Regions from separate parts of the Homo sapiens genome. Here region 1 is linked to region 2. Evidence: promoter capture Hi-C in 16 types of primary human blood cells and fetal thymus (Javierre and others, 2016). All regions are on one chromosome and are shown on one strand. Each heading gives the region's core, a stretch centred on a gene start or on the middle of the fragment in contact. The rest is flanking DNA. Distances are from core to core; before and after follow the strand shown.

What was found. Contacts are between HindIII fragments. The CHiCAGO score rates a contact against its expected background, and 5 or more counts as called.
Region 1: a fragment that was not itself captured here is called in contact with the fragment with the promoter of CXCR2 in region 2 in 1 of 17 cell types (neutrophils); the score reaches 7.0 in neutrophils.

The regions. Positions count from the first base shown.
Region 1 is chr2:218,293,131-218,297,174 of GRCh38, reverse strand. The region is part of intron 2 of PNKD (PNKD metallo-beta-lactamase domain containing); the gene reads right to left. Among named protein-coding and RNA genes, the nearest start is that of TMBIM1, 2.6 kb to the right of the region's middle. RefSeq lists an enhancer at 3,148-3,994. The HindIII fragment of the contact is 1,157 bases long and covers 774-1,930 here.
Region 2 is chr2:218,124,415-218,128,239 of GRCh38, reverse strand. It overlaps CXCR2 (C-X-C motif chemokine receptor 2), which reads right to left and starts at 2,212. Exons shown (of 3, transcript NM_001557.4): 1 at 1,887-2,212. The HindIII fragment of the contact is 2,247 bases long and covers 1,778-3,825 here.

The sequences.
Region 1 (4,044 bases), core at 103-2,602, 170 kb before region 2:
AAGCCTGAGAGGCTCCCTCCATCCCACTTTGGAACATTGGCATTCAATTCAACAGATGCTGGGTCAGGGCCGTGCCCAGGCCTAGGGGTGAATGAGACATTGTCTCTGCCCTCCAGTGGGGAGAAACAGGCACTTTCACCTCAGGCTGGGTTCAATGCCTCAATTCAGTAAATACGTCCTCTGAAAACAAGCAACTTCGGGCGGCGCGGTAGCTCTTGCCTGTAATCCCAGCACTTTGGGAGGCCAAGGCAGGTGGATGACCTGAGGCCAGGAGTTCAAGACCAGCCTGGCCAACGTGGCAAAACCCTGTTTCTACTAAAAATACAAAAATTAGCTGGGCATTGTGGTGGGCGCCTGTAATCTCAGCTACTCAGGAGGCCAAGCAGGAGAATCGCTTGAACCCAGGAGGCGGAGGTTGCAGGGAGCCGAGATCATGCTACTGCACCCCAGCCGTGGTGACAGAGTGAGACTCCATCTCAAAAAGAAAGAAAGAAAGAAAGAAAAAGAAAAACAGAAAAAAGGCAACTTCTTTCAGAAAGTTAGTGATCAATGCATGGGTAGAGTAACACATTAAATGCTAGGTAACCAGGCAGCTATGAGAAGGGTTTGGAGGACCAATTAGTGGAGTCCTGGGGCTGGGCTGGAGGGTGGCAACAGAGAAAGTTCTCTGGATCCACCGCTCCAATTAAGTTTTTCCTGCCCATGTCCTTCAGGTTCCACCTGGGCCCACCCCTTCCAGGCTGCCACCACCCCCTCCCACCAATCACTAAGCTTTAGCTAGTCCTAAAATACCTAAAATAACATCCAGTCCTAAAATAAACATCAGTCTAATCCCTTTCACTCCTCCACCCCTCTTCCTGCAGCCATGGACTTGACTCCACTTTCCTCCTAGGTAGTGTTGCTGGAAAAATACAACCAACCAGTTAAATGTGAATTTCAGATAAGCAATGAGTACTTTTTTTTAGTACAAGTATTTCCAAATATTATATGGGGCAGTGGGATATGCTTATATGAAAAAATATTGTTTGGCCGGGCGCAGCGGCTCATGCCTGTAGTCCCAGCACTTTGGGAGGGTGAGGCGGATGGATTGCTTGAGCTCATGAGTTCAAGACCAGCCTGGGCAACATGGCAAAACCCTGTCTCCACAGAAAATACAAAAATTAGCCGGGCGTGGTGGTGCTCATGTCTGTAGTCCCAGCTACTTGAGAGGCTGAGGTGGGAGGATGGCTTGAGCCTGGGAGGTGGAGGTTGCCGCGAGCCAAGATCGCACTACTGTACTCCAGCCTGGGAGTGCAGAGCCAGACCTTGTCTTGAAAAAAAAAAAAAAAAAGGTTTGTTGTTTATCTGAAGCTCAAACTGGTTGCCTTGCATCTTTATTTGCTAAAGCTGGAACCCTACCCCAGGGGCACCACCAGAGCCTCCCCAACCCTCCCAAACTCCCTCTAGGTGGTTATTTTCTGGCTCCCCATTGCTTTCAGGGTAAAATCTCAATTTCTGGCCCCCTGCCTCCTTGGCCAGCCCTATTTCCTACCCCTTCTACCCCACTGCACCCTCCACCCCCCATCCTAGCTTGCTGGGGCAACTGGCCCTAAGTCCCTTGCCCTCTGCCTGGAGAACCTTCTCCCCTCCTCCGAATAGGCTGGTTCCTAACACCTCCTAACACTCTACTCAGGTGTCACCTCCTCTGAACTCCTTTCCCGAACCCCCACCCCATTCCCCACACTGGGTTAGGAGCTTTCTCTGGGATCTGGAGGAACCAAGTGAATATTTCTTTATCTGCCAGCACTTGTCAAACTGTCAACATTGTAATAATCTGTCATTTTACTGGCTCCCTTAGACTGTGAGTTTCTTGAGAGCAGGGGCTGTGTTCTTTCAGCCTTCTCATTTCTAGAACCGGAAATTCCTGTCTGGTTGGCAGACAATAAAAGCTTACTTAATAATTTTGCAGATAAGGCCCAAGAGAAAAAAACATCATTTATCGAATGCCTATTGCCAGCGAAGCACTGCTGCTCTGGGCCAGGCGCTTCAGGTGTTATTTTTGACCCTATAGTCAGAAAAAGGGCTCTGGAGAAAAAGCACGCAGCAAGGCTTGTGTGGGCTTGCCTCGTGTGCCCCATGTCCCACTCCCCCAGTCGGGCAGATGTGAGTCGCTGGTGATTGCTGGTTGGAAATGGAATCTCCTTGGATATTAACCATCCTGGTGGTTCTAGAAAGTGGAGGGTGTTTTCTGGAGAAGGGGCCTGCTATGGTGGGAATGTTGTTGTCCCCACTCCATTCATTTGTTGAAACTTAATCCTCAATGTTATAGTATTAAAAGGTGAGGCCTTTAGGAAGTGATTAGGTCATGAAGGCGGAACCCTCTGGAATGGAATTCATGCTCTTAGAAAAGAAGCTGGTGGCCAGGTGCAGTGGCTCACGCCTATAATCCCAGCACTTTGGGAGGTGGAGGAGGGCAAATTGCTTGAGCCCAGGAGTTCAAGACCAGCGTGGGCAACATAGTGAGACCCTGTCTCTACAAAAAATACAAAAATTAGCCAGGTGTGGTGGTGCATGTGTGTAGTCCCAGCTACTCAGGAGGCTGAGTTGGAAGGATTGCTTGTACATGGGAGGTCAAGGCTGCAGTGAGCTGCAATTGTGCCATTGCACAGAGTGAGATTCCATCTCAAAAAAAAGGAAGGCTGGTGGGGGGGCGGTGTCTGTTTGTTCCTTCCTTGGCCATATGAGGACTCAGACGATATCTGTGAAGCAGAGGGAGCCTTCATCAGACACCTAACCTGCTGGTGCCTTGATGTTGCGTTTCCCACCCTCCAGAACTGTGAGCAATACATTTCTGCTGTTTCTAAATTACCCACTCTAAGGTATTTTTGTTGTAGCAGCCCAGATGGACTAAGACAGCACAAGTGTAGAGAGCATGAAAAAATGTCAGGGATCTGGACAGATTCCATGGGCCATGCATTTCACCTAGGGCGCTACTCCTTGAGCAAGGGGGAGACAGACACTGAGCAGAACTGTACTTGCTCTGGTGAGATCACACCTTGGGTGGGGACTTCCTAAAATGAGGTTCTTGGCCTGTAGGAACTGGAAGTACACTGAAGGGTTGGGGTGTCTGGGGAGCTAGCCCACCATAACGGCCACTAGTCCCCCTAAGTAACTCCTACTTAAACTATATTTACAGAAATAAACATACATAGTGTGTGTATGGGGGGCAGTTTTTAAAAATCTGTCTTTTTTTTTTTTTTTTTTTTTTAAATCTCTGTTTTGGGGCTGGACGTGGTGGCTCATGTCTGTAATCCTAGCACTTTGGGAGGCCAAAGTGGGCTGACTGCTTTGAGCTCAGGGGTTTGAGACCAGCCTATGCAACAACGTGAAAACCCATCTCTACAAAACAAACAAACCAAACAAAACAAACAAGCAAACAAACAAAATTAGCTGGGTGTAGTGGCACACACTTGTAATCCCAGCTACTCAGGAGGCTGAGGCCGGAGAATCACTTGAAACCAGGAGGAGGATGCAGTGAGCCGAGATGGCGCCACTGCACTCCAGCCTGGGTGACAGAGCGAGACCCTGTCTGGAAAAAAAAAAAAAAAAAAAAAAGGACATTCAGTGGTGGTGTGGTGCTGACCTATAGCTATTAACATGAGATAAGCACTTTAAACAGAGTTGGTCAACTACTGGCAGCCTTGGTGTCATGGAAAGAACTTGGACTTTGGAACCACAGAAACTCAGGCAAGGCTCGGTAATGTTTCTCTTTTTAAATTGAGACAAGGTCTCTCTATGTTGCCTAGGCTGGGTCTCCAACTCCTGGGCTCAAGCCATCCTCTGGCCTTGGCCTCCCAAAAGTGCTAGGATCGCAGGTGTGAGTCACCATGCCCAGGCTCCAGTAATATTTCAGAACTTCCTCAAAACTGTTTCCTCCTTTGCTACTGCATTCTTCACTGAGATGAGGGTTAAGACCTACCTAACAGTAGTAATCTACATCTCAATGTAGGACTTCTGAATTCTGACTTGAGGAAAGCACCTGCTTTCCTGGTTGAGTAATTATAA
Region 2 (3,825 bases), core at 963-3,462:
CTAAAACCAGATAGAGGCTTATTACATATGGAGAGAGGCAGATGACACCAGGGCTAGCTGAGCAATTCTGGGCAAGTGACTTTTCCTTTCTGAGTCTCAGTTTACTCATCTGTAAAATGGGGCCAATACAGAATCCAACTCATGGGGTTGTGGTGAGGATGAAATGAGGGATTGCTTGTAAATCACGTAAAACATACATAAAGTACAATGTTAACCTTTATTGTTGTGATCATTATTACTGGAATAGTTTATTCACTGATAACATGCTGCCTCTCTCACTACATCCCCAGTCAAGGGAAAGCAGTCGGCAGTGGGTCTGCTTTCAAGGCTGACTTTGATGACATCTAATTTACTTTGACCTGGATATTAATTGTCATATTAGCTGTAATGTTGAGTGTCTACCAGGTTCTAGCTTCTGGGCAAAGTGCTTTCCAGAATTTGTATCAATTAATCCTCAGGATAACCTCACGAAGCAGGCACTTTCTGGAAGAGGAAATGAAGACTCTGAGAGGTTAAGCAACATACCTAGAGTGACACAGCTGAACTAGGTTTTCAGTTTAAAAAACTTCTAAAAATCTGCTCTCAAATCCTATCTCCTGTTCACTGTAATAAGGAGCAGGATCCCAGCCTAAAGTTTCTGAGCTCCATTAGGTACCTCCCTGTGTCCCAGAAAGTCAGATACAAAGGATGTAGAGAGGGGAGCCCAGATTTGACATTTCCCAGTCAGCCTCCTTCTTCATGCTCCTTAGGTCAATTTCATTTCCATGGAGATCACTGCGGTTATATGCAGGGTGGAGTGAATTAAAAAACTGGCTTCTGGTGCGGTGGCTCATGCCTGTAATCCCAGCACTTTGGGAGGCTGAGGTGAGTGGATCACTCGAGGCCAGGAGTTACAGAACAGCCTGGCCAACATGGTGAAACCCCGCCTCTATTAAAAATGCAAAAATTAGCCAGGCGTGGCAGCGCACGCCTGTAATCCCAGCTACTCCAGAGGCTGAGGCATAAGAATTGCTTGAACTCGGGAGGCAGAAGTTGCAGTGAGCCGAGATTGTGCCATTGCATTCCAGCCTGGGCGACAGAGCAAAACCCTGTCTCAAACAAAAACAAAACAAAAACCTGGCTTCTAATCCTGCTTGGAGAAGTCATTCTTTCTGGGCCTTGTTGTGTGCCTTTGGAAAACGGGAGCTTCTTCTAATTCTATTCTGTTCAGCATGCTAGCTACTAGCCATGTGTAGCTATTTAAATTAAAATTAATTAAAATAAAGGCCAGGCAAGGTGGCCCATGCCTGTAATCCCAGCACTTTGGGAGGCCGAGGTGGGCGGATCGCTTGAGCCCAGGAGTTTGAGATCAGCCTGGGCAACATGACGAAACCCTGTCTTTACAAAAACAAAAACAAAACAAACAAACAAACAAAACCCAAAAAATTAGCTGAGTGTAGCGGCACATGCCTGTAGCTGCAGCTACTTGGGAGGCTGAGGTGGGAGAATCACCTAGACCTGTAGGTTGAGGTTGCAATGAGCCAAGATCATGCCACAGCACTCCAGCCTGGGCATTGGAGTGAGAGCCTGTCTCAAAAAAGAAAAAATAAAATAAAATAAAATGAAATAAAAATTGAGATCCGCAGTCACACTAGTCACATTTCAAGTGCTCCGTGGCCACGTGTGACTAGTGGCTACCATACTGGGCAGGGCAGGTCTAGGACATTTCTATTATTGCAGAAAATTCTTTTGTGCAACACTGTCTAGGTGAAGACTTAGTTGTCTTTAGCTCTAAGCTTCTACACTTCATCACCCCAGTTCTCAGGGGCCTCAGAGGAGGCTGAAGTTTCCAGATCTCTTCCATTAGAAATATGTTGCCAGCATCTCAGACTGAACAAGTCACCTACCTGCTGTTATTGGAGTGGCCACCGATGTCTTCACTGTGCCTCAAGGTTGGGTGGTAGTCAGAGCTGTTAGACAGGAAAAAAAAGATGAAACAACCTTGACGATGAAACTTCTGACCTGGGTTGCAAGGGGGAAATCCAGGATGCCCTCCTGGGGAGGTATTCCCACAGAGGAACAATGAGGTCTGTCCTGGGACTTTGGCCCAGGACAGGTGCCACTTAGTGATTCTGGGATGAGTGCTGGGGATTTTCACATCTTCCTGTCTGATGGCTTCTGGAGGAGCCTACCAGTCTGAAGGTGGAGATTTGTCTATCCACCTTCTGTCTCTGAATGTTTTGAACCTGCACTTCCTTTTTTAACAAGGAAGATGCAGGCATCCCAGCCCCCGCCAACGGACTTGTCTGAACTCGCACGCAGTTTCTTCCTTCTTTCCGGGGTCAGAGTGAGAAGCGTCCCTCCTTCTGTTTCTGTTGAATCCCCGCACCTGACTGTGGGACCCACTGCCTCTCTGGTCCTTGAGGATCCTGCTTTCTCTCCCCTCTGTCCTGGCTCTTTCCCTTCTACCACATCTTACTTATGGCTTTATCATGCTCCCTCTGTCCTAGCACCCTTCAGCCACCACAGCTGCTCTCTCCACTTCCTCACCTCCCCTCTGCTGCTCAACAAAGACACTGCAACTGGCTTCCTTCCTACTGCTCCACTGAAATAACTTTCGCCAAGGTTCCCAATGACCTCTGGGTTACTAAACCCAGCAAATCCATTAAAAAAAAAAACAAAAACAAATTGCTTTCTTTCCCCCCAAGACAACAGATTGGAGGCAGCATTAGCATGCCTCTCCCATCTGGAAGGACAGAATAGCGTGTAGAGATTCACACTATAATTTTTTTTTCTCCAGGAACGAATGCAGGAACTGAACAGGAAAGCTGAAAGAATCCACAGAACTTTTGAAAGAAGTGGCAGGCTGCAGCCTACTCTGTGAGACAGGCAAAAACTCACCTCTAGGCAGAATAGCACTGTACCCAGGAAGGAGAAAACGGCTGCATATTCTCAGCTATCACCACTGCTTACAACACCCTGGCTAACCAGAAGTCCTGCGTCTGTCCACGTGATAAGTTCACTATAATTATAACCAGCATTTGAGAAAGTCAATACTCTAAGTCTATCTACAACCAAGGAATCTTGCAGAGTTTGCATCACTCCCCTCCCACTTCTGTCAGAGATGGTGCTGGTATTCACTGCTGGGAGTCTTGAAGACAGGTAACACCACTGGATCCCTTGCAGACATTCCCTAGCACCAGCCCAGAGTCTGGTAGGCCCACTGGGTGGCTAGACCCAGAAGAGCACTGTAGTCTGGCTTCCAGGAAGTCCCATTCCTAGAGGAAGGGGAAGAACATCACATCAAGGGAATACCCTGTGGAACAAAAGAATCTGAATGGCAGGGCTTGAGTCCCAGATCTTTTCACTGGTGGGAAGTTTCCTATTGCAGAGACAATTGCTGTGCTGGGCAGAGTGGGGGAAAGTTTGCACCTCTACCCAATAGGCAGGCAGCCTCTGGTATTGTGAAGGGTCTTAGAGAAGGGATCCTTGTTCCCCCTGGTACGCCACTGCAGACAGAGCTGGGGCTTCTCCCAAAGGAACGCAGCATTGATGCACCTATAGACAGCCTTCCTGGAACAAATCAGGGTGATTGCATCCCCACGGGAGGAGCACTCCCCAGATTCAGGTTTGCATGACAGGCAGTCACAATTCCTCTCTACTTGGAACATCAACATTTCTACAGATGAAAATAACTGCCTGTCTGATCTGAATAGCTGGAACACTGGGAAAGGAGTGAAGCTGGGAGGTGGATAGCTTTCCAGCTGGCCTAGTGGGGGACCTGAGGTAGCTCCTACCCTTCACCCTGACAAAACCTCAGCACATCTAATTGAGAGCTCTCCCAGG